Linked DNA regions of Homo sapiens: region 2 is linked to region 1. The links are contacts of gene promoters, found by promoter capture Hi-C in human tissues and cell types (Jung and others, 2019). All regions are on one chromosome and are shown on one strand. The core of a region is centred on a gene start or on the middle of the fragment in contact, and the rest is flanking DNA. Distances in the headings are between cores, read along the strand shown.

What was found. The method cuts DNA at HindIII sites, captures the fragments that hold promoters and counts their contacts. A contact is called where the count stands out against the background at its distance.
Region 2: a contact is called between a fragment that was not itself captured here and the fragment with the promoter of GJB5 in region 1, in 1 of the 25 tissues and cell types used here (heart left ventricle).

What each region holds. Positions count from the first base shown.
Region 1 is chr1:34,752,521-34,757,771 of GRCh38, reverse strand. It overlaps GJB5 (gap junction protein beta 5), which reads right to left and starts at 2,725. Exons shown (of 2, transcript NM_005268.4): 1 at 2,577-2,725; 2 at 1-465. The coding sequence starts at 441. The HindIII fragment of the contact is 2,696 bases long and covers 1,161-3,856 here.
Region 2 is chr1:34,614,477-34,619,727 of GRCh38, reverse strand. LOC105378641 (a long non-coding RNA gene) reads left to right here. Exons shown (of 9, transcript XR_001737964.2): 2 at 4,033-4,164. Among named protein-coding and RNA genes, the nearest start is that of MIR552, 53 kb to the left of the region's middle. The HindIII fragment of the contact is 3,425 bases long and covers 1,507-4,931 here.

The DNA of each region.
Region 1 (5,251 bases), core at 1,476-3,975:
ATAGAGAAAGGCGATGTCCACGCTCGCCTTGAACACTAGGCTGCAGACATATGTCCACCAGAGCCCACCCCGCTTCTTGCCGGGGTTCAGGTAGAGGCGCCCACTGTTCTCCCCATGGGCTTCTCGGTGCCTCTTCTCCTGAACCTCCCGGTAGGCCACGTGCATGACCACGAGCAGTGAGGGGCATGTCACCAGGATAAGCTGCAGGGCCCAGAGGCGCACATGGGACACAGGGAAGAACTCATCAAAGCAGACGTTGGAGCAGCCGGGCTGGCGAGTATTGCAGTCGAAGTCCTTGTGGTCATCACTCCACACACGCTCGGCCGTCACCAGGTACACCAGCACGCGGAAGATGAAGACCAGAGACAGCCAGATGCGCCCAAAGGCTGTGGAGTACTTGTTGACCCCACTCAGGAGTCCCTCAAAGATACTCCAGTTCATGGTGGACCCACGCGTCAGCTGCTACTGCAGGGAAACAAGAACAATCATTTCCTACATTTATCACAGACTTGCTCTGAGCACTTTGTAGAAATATGTCATCACATTTCATCCTTACCATCACTAGAGGAGCTGGGTTCTACTACTGTCCCCATTTTGTAGAGGGAGGGAGCTGAGGTTTAGTGGCATTATATACAAGGTTACACAACTATTAGGTGCAGGGCTGGGATTTGAGCATAGGTAATTAAGTCCAGAACCCAGCTCTTACCAATACCAGTGGATAAGGGCAGGTCCAGGGAGCCACTCATTCCTCCCCGGGCCTGAGGCTCTGGTCTTGAGGTTCTGCAGAGTGAAGACTGGTGGAGCTGGGACATTCTGCCTGCTCCCTCTGTTTCAACCCTGGCCCTCCTCCTCAGGGGGGCTGAGCCTTGAGATGGTTCTCTCCTTTCTGAGCACTGCTGCCTCTTCTCAGACAGCCCCTTCCCCAGGGGAACCTGCTCTTTGTCCTTTTCTTGGCTCAGGGATGGGACTGGAAAGGAGGCTGGAACCTTGTCCCCAAGCCCCCATCTGGTCTAACACTCTGTAATTAGCCAGGCAGAGTCCTGCTCAAGTGCCACTCAATGCAATCCAGCTGAAAGCTAAAGCAGGCAGCAATAAATTCTCTTCATACAGTAGGTTTCCTAGAGTAACCTGGTATTCCAGTGTTTCCCAAACAGTGTTCCCTGGAACCCTGTCCCATAGGTTGGCAATAGGAGAAGTGAGAGAAGAGGATTCTGTGTCAAGAAAAGTTGGCAAACATTGGGTTTAGTAAAGTTAAATAGGGTTCTTTTGCTCAACCGTGCTAATAAACTCACTAATAAATTCACCAAAAGAGGTATGAAATATGTGGCATTGCCCAAACTCATTTGCCCACAGAAGCCCTTTTCCTCCTGACATAACATTTATCATCTTGTGGAACAGCCTTGTCAAGACATCAAGTGGGAAATGCTGCTCCTGTCAGTTCTGCTGGTGAATTTGGCCTGATGAACTCACAGAATCAGATTCACCTCCGCGTAAGGACTGTGACTGCTAGGCAGAGTAAGGGGTCCCCACTTCCTCACCCGCGAGTCCTCTGCCTGATTCCTGGAGATGGGGGTGTGTCCATTAAGACCCATGCACTGTGGTTTCAACCAACTGTGCACCCTGGGACCCCAAGGAACCTGTCTGCCTAGCCACTAAAGGGCTCATGATGGCCTTCCCATGCTGGTCCAGGCTGAAGCTCACCAGGCTCTCTGGAGCCTCTGCATGATCAACTGCAAAGCAGAGTAGTGATAACAGCCAATATCCATGAAGCATTCATGCCGTGCCAGGCACCGCTCTAAGTTCTTTGTATGAATCAGTACATTATTCCTTCACAGCAACCTTAGGAAAGGGCATATTTTTTATTCCCAATTTACAGATGAGGAAAGAGGAACACAGAGGGATTAATTAACTTGCTCAACGTCACACAGCTAATAAGTGGCAGAGCTAGGATTTGAACCCAGGCAGGCTGGCTCTAGAGCCCACCCTCCGGGAACTGCCCAGCCTTAGGCCTCAGACCCTTTCCTCAAGTTTCAATGAGCTGCCTGCCTGTTTGTGTGCAGACGGATTCTGTCCTTCCCCTTGTGTGTGGATCCTGGATGAGGGTGGCTGGGGGAACCTTTGCCCACCACCCTGTCTCCACACCACCTGCGCCACTTGGACGGGGGATGGGTGGAGGTGGGGGCCGGGGTTGGGGGGAGCTCTGTTTTGAATCACCATCTTGCATGCTCAGTCCTGTCTAAGGTAGGACTCCTGCAGCTTCTCAGGGAACACCCAGGAAGGCCCCGCCCTTAGCCCCAGGGGCTCTCACCCAGCCCATCCCTACTTGGGGAGGAGTGGGGCAGGGCTTTGCAGGCCCAGGCAGAGCTACCCTGCCTGCTGAGCTTCCGGCCTGGCCCCTGCTCCTACCTTTGCCCGGCTGGGGAGACCTGAAAGAACCCAGAGCCCCTTATTCCTCCACCATCAGGACCCAGGGTGGCAGATGTGTCCAGGCCACATCCCACCACTCCCCAGCAGAGAAGTGTCCTCCTGCCACGTATGCCAAGGGGCAGGGCACATGCGGACACAGATGCCCTTACCTGAGTGACTACTCCTCAGGGCTCTCCTGGCTCCCAGCAGCCGGCAATAGGACTCAGCAAGCAGCTTGAATTTCATATCCAGAAGCGGGGAAGGTTTTCGGGGAAGCCCGTTGAAGCCTGTTTCCAGGACAGAGCCTGCCGGGTGTGCTGGCCCAGCCTGGGAGGAGGAGGAGCTGGGACCTGCACTGCCATTGGCTGGGCCCCAGCCTCCCCAGACTGCTTCTGATGAGGCTCAGGAAACTGAGGGGTTCACTCCTCCCAGGGCGCTGAGCCTCGAATCCTGGTATCCTCTCAGGGGAGAGCCACAGGTCCACTCTGACTCCTTGTTCATCCTCCCATCTGTGGGCTTGTGTGGGAGAAGCTGAGGCCTGAATCCCAGCTCTGCCACTTTCTCACTGTGTGATTTCTTGCCTTCTCTGTGAAAGTGGGAAAAGAACAACACCTACCTCATAGGGTGGATACGTGGATTAACCCAGCCTTAGGGGTGAAGTGCTTAGAACAGTGCCTGACACAAGGGAAGCCCTGTCTACAATTGCCTATAATGCGTGTATACTGCCCAGCACAGGCCTGCCGCATGGTATGTCCTCAAAAAAATGTTTCTTCCTCCTCCTTTTCCTTATTCCTAGGCCTTTTCTTTCTGAGATACAGGGAAGGCAGAGGAGAAGGGAGGGAGAGAGAGACGTATGCACTAGAGAAAATCTCATTTGGATGCATGTTGTCTTTGGGTTAAAAAGGCCAAACCCAAGCCAGGCAGGAACCACAGGAGAGGTGGAGAAGGTGGGCAGGGGCACCTGGGGAAAGCTTCTCATTAGTGCACAGACACGGTCTTTTGGCCTAATTGACTTCCAAGGTGCCCTGTATCAGCAGGTCACTTGGGGTCAGGATTCAACAGACAAAGCATCCAGGAGCCACAAACACCTCATGTCCACAAGCAAACACAATGTAGCTTCACATGAGCATACTCTTACACACAGGCCACAATTATGGGCACAGTGTTGCACACACATGCAGCAGTGGCTTTATTTTATTCACTGCTCTATCCCTTGTGCCTAGTATGGTGCCTGGTGTCTTGTCCAGTTAGGCTTCAATTTATATTTATTGAATGAATGATGTGTGAAATGCACACACCCTGCAGAGAGTCACACATTTCTATACTCCATGCTCTTTCCAAAAAGCTGTTGCCAAGTACAGGAGAGAGGAGGCATATAAAGAGATCAGTTACAACATTGTGAGAAGTCCTAGAAAAGACACAGAGAGAGAAGGGAGTTTTAAGTTCTGCCAGAGGGAGAGCCGGAGAAGGTAACATTTAAGCTGGGTCTTGAAGGATGTATAGGAGTTTACCAAGAAGAGATGCTGAGGAGGGGCCTTTGAGGCAGTGGGCACATAGCGTGCAGAGGACCTTTGTGAAAAATAATGGAAGAGCATTGGAGAGTGGGCTGGGTAGTGGTGGGGACACCACATGGCAAGGAGCCTGGAAGGTCAGCAAAGACCTTCCAGACCATGAAGGACCTGGAATGTCATGCTAAGGAGTTTGAATTTATCTTGGGTGCAGAGGGAGGCATGAGGGAATTCTTTTCTTTTTTCTATTTTTACATTTTGTATTGTGCTGAGGCAGGAAAAAGGAAGAGACATGGTCAGATTGGTACATTTGATTCTCATTATTCAAGGTAGTTATAGTCTATGAGTCACCATGAGCACCAAGTTAGTGAATATTGAAGCATTCTTCCTAGAGGACATATGAGGTTAGGTTCCTGCAAGCTTCTGTTTACAATGTGGTTATCAACTGATCAATACAGAAGTCTGTTTTATGTGTGTTTCTGAAGACACCTTGTTTAATATATATTGTTGACTCATTAATATTGGACTCATAGCCAACACCACTATAACTCATGACTGAATGAAGCTTGTCTAACACACATATTTTTTCCATAAGGCTCATCGTAGCCTTCGTGTGCTTAGAAACACTAGATGGCACTTCAGCACTGTACTCGGGGCCATTTCAAACAGCAAATCCCCAGCAAAAAGCAAGAAATGAGAAAAACATGGCACCAAGTAGACCTCCAATAGAACATGTTTATAGCATTAGAGCTGAAAGGGGAAGGCAGAATGTCACCTTGTTCAGCCACAGCTGGGAACACGTGCATTGGGAGACTCAAATTTTTGCCACTCTGTGCATGTTATAAATGGCCATGAAAGTGTCTTAAGTGTAGATTTTGGCTTAGGAATAAATTGTGGTGAGCTGGAGAATGCACAATACGGAATCTGTGAATAATGAAGATCAACTGTATGTTTAGAAAGCTTCCTCTGTTTGAGAAAAGAGGCTGGAGGGGCTTGTGAGACCGGTATGAAAGTTACTGCAATGATTTAGGCAAGAAATGAGCAAGAGGGTTGGATTTGGGAAATAGCTGGTAAATACAGCTGGCAGCTTTGGGGGACTGACTTGGGGGACTGACTGGATGTAGGATGTGAGGCAGGAGGCTGACCTAGGATGGTTCATAGGTCACTGGTTTTGGTGATTTGATAGGTGATTGGGCCACTGATAGAAATAACCCTATGAGGTAGGAACTCCAATGGCTCCATGTTCCAGATGGGAAAACTGAGGCCCAGAGAGGCTAAGAAACTTGCCTGGGCTTGCACAATCAGTAATCAGGAGAGCTGGGGGTGGAATTCAGGTA
Region 2 (5,251 bases), core at 1,970-4,469, 140 kb after region 1:
AAGCTGGACCTAGCAAATGTTTTCTAACAAATAGAATACTGTGAAAGTGGTGAGATGTCTCTTCCAAGATTAGGTTACAAAAAGACTCTCTGGCTTCTGTTCTGGGCTGCCCTCTTACTCGCTGGCTCATTTGTTTTGTTGGAAGCCTGTGGCCATGTTGTGAGTTCTTATGTGGAGAGGCCCATATGGCAAGAAACTGATATCTCCAGGTGATAGTGAGGACATGAGGCCCGCCAACAGCCATGTGAATGAGCTTGGAAGTGGATCCTACCCTCCTTGATTACATCATCATGAGGGACTTTGAGCCAGATGCTCTGAGCTAAGTCACACCTGAATTCCTGACACACAGAAACTGTGAGATAATAAATATTTGTTGTGTTAAGACACTAAGTTTTGCGGTGATTTGTTGCACAGCAATAGATAACTAATACAACACGATGCTTTGCTGGAAAGATGAACCATGCACTGTAGGGGTAGAGAGGCAGGAGTGATCAAATCTGCATGGAGAAGTTGGGCAAGGTGTCCCCAAGGAGGGTATGGTCCTGTAGCTAGAGAAGAAGGCTACAGATAATTAGTGGTAATCCATCCTCCCTTTCCCTCTCCTCTTATTACCATGGAACAATCTTCAAGCTCCTACCCTAGAATCCACACCTGGCAAAGAATCTGCACCGTGTTGTTCTGTAGATCTGGGCTAATGCACTATTGGTAATGGAATAAAAGAGATGCTGGTGGTTCCCTTCCTCTCCCTACACCTCTTTCAGACACAGTGGACTGGCTCTGTCCTGACTATCTCCTTCAGATTACTGGGTCTCAGTCTAGCTGCCTTTTCCCCCAGAAGGGGCCTCAGACACCCCATCTTGCATTTGCAAAGTCTCCATTCAGCACAGCTCAGCACATCTCCCTGTGCCCTCCTCAATTAAAAATGACACAAAAGTAAAGGAGACACATAGCTCTTTGAAAAAACTTCCAGATCCAAACTTTTTAATGAAGATGGAATATAAAGAGCCTGTCTTATCTGTCCGATGTGACTCCCATGTGCTGTAATCAAGCAGAATTAATTAAAAGCAATCAAGTGGCTAGTTGGCATAGGGGCCTGCGGCATGAGTCTTTCATCTTAGCCACAAGAATGCTCTTCCTGAGGGGGCGGGGTTGCAGGCAGAGAGTTGGGTGAGCCCATTGCTAGAGGGAAAACCAGCCCACTAGCAAGTGTTCAATGCCAAGGCATGACCCATGCTGCTGGAGTGAGTTTAGTGCAACTCAAAGAGGTGTTTCCACATTGTGTATGAAGGGTCCAGTTCAGGGCTTCTTAAACTCTCAACCTATGGACATCTGGGGCTGGATACTTCTTTGTTGTGGGAGCTGTTCTGTGCATTATAGGATGTTTTGTGGCATCCCTAGCATCTACCCACTAGATGCCAGTGCAACCCCTGCCTAATAGCAACAAGTAAAAATTTCTCCAAACATTACCAAATGTCCCCAGGGTAGGGGTTGGGGAGCAAAATTGTCCACAGTTGAGAACTGCTGGCCCAAACTAGAGTTTCCTTCAATAAAGGTATAGCTAGACTAGGACACCTTTCAGTCACGGTGGCCCCTGGCACCCTGGGTTAGCTTAAAGATGACAACGACCCTCTAGCTTGCAGTAAGTTGGAAAATGTTATTATCCCAGTGGGGCCAAAGAGCCAGTCACATGGAGAGAGGCAATGTGAAGCCTCAAGTCTAAAGGGGAATGATTCTTCCCTAGACTTATATAGAATGCAAGAAATTCCTCCCCCCGGAAATATTTTACAACCACTGCCAAGTATTGCACAATCTCTCCTAACATCAGCCACCTCCTCATACTGTGACATTTCCCAGTACAGAGTGACAAATGGGGGCAGGAAAGGGGTTGTGGTGGTGGGATATCAGAGGACTTTCATCTCCAATTTGGCAATACTTTTTCTCACTGGTCCCCTCTGTCTTTTTGCTTACAAATATCTTATAGAATCTTGGAATATTTGGCTCCTGTTATACTCAAAGGATATGAGCTTTGCTAGACTTTTCAACAACAAGAGTGTGACTTAAATAGCCCTGTCTTGGTCCAGCAACAATAGATTAAGCGAATGGTATCATATCCTACATAACAACCAGGAGAAAAGTGGAAGGCATGCTAAGGTACCACGGGAGTGCCAACTTTCACCCAGTGGCCCCACTTATTAGATAAAGAAGGACAGAGAGTTGAAAGATTGCTTAATGCAGGGTGGCAGGGGCTGAAGCATTGCTGGGTCCTAAAGAACAAAGGAGGAGGAGTTTCTGTCCGAGCTTGTTTGTGCAGCGTAAGTAGAGAGTCCATTAGAGCTCCCCTCTTCCCATGATTGTCTGTCTTTTTCAGCCTCCCTTTCGGGCTGGATGCCTGCAGAATTGGGGAGGTGTGGGGACATCCTTTCTGGATATCCACAGAAGGAATAGGTGACATTTGAAGGTGGCCAGGAAGCAGAACATGTCTAGAACCCCTGTTATGGGCCAGGCACAGTGCTCATATTTCATTAACCCAAACAGCCCTGAGAGAGAAATAGCATTACCCCTTTACAGTGAAGGAAGACGAAGCAACTAGAAAGTTGCAGAGCCAGGATTCAAACCCAGTCTCCTGACTCCAAAGTTTATGGTCTTTCTCCCGTATCTGCTTCTTTCCTTAAGCTCATAAAATAGACTTAAGGATGTGGGTCTCAGTGCATTGAGGTCAAGGGCTGTTGATGGGCAGGATCCCAATTCCAGAGGAAGCGGTGACAGAAGTATACCTCAGGCTCTGGTCTACTTTTGGTCCCTTCTGAGTTTCCTTGGGGGTCACAGCTTCACTGCAAAACTGGGATACAGCTTAAAGAGCAAATTGACGGGTACCTTTGCCCTTCCTGACACCTCCCTGGGCCACACTGCCATTCCTCATCTGTTACTTTATTTCCAAAGAGTTGTTCGGTCCAAGAGTTACCTCCAACTCACCCTTCTTTGGTCAGGTCCCGAAAAGATGCCTTCACATCCTAACCCAGAACGTGTGAATGTGACTTTATTTGGAAAAAGTGTCTTTGCAGATGTAACTAAGTTAAGGATCTCAAGATGAGATCATCTTAGATTATCTGGGTGGGCCTTAAATCCAATGATAAGTGACTCCATAAGAGACAAAAGAGGAGAATTCTGGGAGAGAAGAGGAAAAGGCCATATGAAGATGGAGGCAGAGATTGGAGTGATGCAGCCACAACACAAAGAATGCTGACAGTCACTGGAAGCTGGAAAGGGCAAGGAAGTACTCTCCGCTAGGGTATTTGAAGGGAGCATAGCCTTGCTGACAGCTCAATCTCAGACTTCTGGCCTCCGGAACTGGGCACAAATAAATTTCTGTTGTTTTAAGCCACCAAGTGGCTTATGTGTTATGGCAGCCCCAGGAAATCAATACAGGTTCCCAAAGTTAAATATAAGGTCATTGCAATTTGCTACTGCTCCATCAGCCTGCATTGATGGGATGCCTGGTACATTTGTGGCCTCCTCCCCCGGTTGCAATGAGGGGCAAGAGGGTGCCCCCGAGGCACTTGAAAGCCATTCACAGCCAGGAAACACAAAGTATAAGCTTATATGAGGCTAGAGAGTTGGCCTGAGGCTTGATGCCAAAGGGCCTTAAATCCACGTTAAAGATTTGGAATTCATCTCTAGGATCTTGAGAAGCTCCTGCAGGTTTTAAGGTGTATAATGAATCAATGAGTGTGCGTTTTAGAATGCACACGCTGGGTGCCAGATGGGAGATAGAGAGGGCAAGATTCCCATGTGCCTCCATCCAGCTCTGCTCTTCACCTCTAACTCCAAGTGACAGCCCCTAGGTGGGCTGTCTCTGCTTGGTCAAGGAGACAGACACACTTGGGAGAAGAGTTAGCCAGCCGGAGGAAGTCAGGTTCAGAGTGGTGGACTGGTGAAGCTCTCCAGGCACTAAACTTTTATTCATCACCAAGGTCTCTCAGCTAGTAGTCTATTTCCATGAAAGTCATCACAAGATTTTTTTTTTTTTTAAAGCAGGCCAATTAAATCAAGCATATTCCTCAGTATCATGGAGAGACTGGAGGTTAGAGACACCAAAACCATCCCTGGCTTAATGACTTTGGGATCCCTGGGCCCCTCCATGCAGCAGAACGGCAATTAACCAAGGTGGGTGACTTTCTTTCTGCTTGTGTTGACAATTGGAAACAGAAGCAGCTTTTGGGTCTGGGGTAGGAACCAGAACTGAGTTAATACTTTAGTTTGCCCTGAGAATAAAAAAAGAATGATAGGGCTGAATGGGGGCTCCCCACTGCCTCTGACTTCCTCAGATCTTACGCTGTGTTCCTCTGCCATGGCTCCTTTATTCCCGGGCCTCCTTCCAAGTTGTTACTTGTCACCTGTCACCTGAGTCACCCTGGAGCCTCACAGCTGATCTTCTGTCTTTTCTTCCTTTCTCACCCATCCTTTACATCAGCCATGGGAAGCTCTCTCTCAGGCACCAGGTAATCACGATTCCAACACACATCCTATTGCCAGTGGGTTCAACCCGAAAGTCTTTAGTCTGATGTTCAGTCTCATCTTTCACTCTTTGTCTTCTGCTCTCTGCTTGCCTACATCTGCTGGAGCTGACACTGTGCCAAATCCTGTCCAGGACCTGCTTATTTCCAGCACTGTCTTTGTTGGGTGTCTGTGCTTGGGACACCTTCCTGTTTCATCTCCATCCAAGCTTTGAGAGACTTTGCAGTATATTCATTAAGTGTGTAGCGCTGGAATCAGACTCTTTGAGTTCATATTCTGCCTCTGTCACTTACATGAAATAAAATATATAAGCTCTTGGCTCAGACCGTGACATAAAATAAGTGTTCAATAACATGCTTGACAGTATTATTTCTCCCGCACATCACTTCTGTTGAATCCCAGTGTTCACTTCTCTCAGGAAGTCTTTCCTGCGTAACATTAACCTGGGCCTCCCTGACCCTGCTCACTCACAGGCAATAAAACCTCCCTTGGAAGCTCGAATCAGGGCAGAGGTCCTTTCAGCATGTCTGACCCCATGGGTGGGTGTGGAATGACTAGCACTTTCTGATTCTCTTTGGTCTGGTACATATTGATGAGCCTCCATTGAACTGCTCTGAATCAAAGCTTTCTCTTAACATCAGTCATGGACCACCCATCCACCCACCATCCATCCATCCACTCAGTCATTCAGCGATATTTTGAACACTTATTATGTGCCAGGAACTGTGCTATGTGT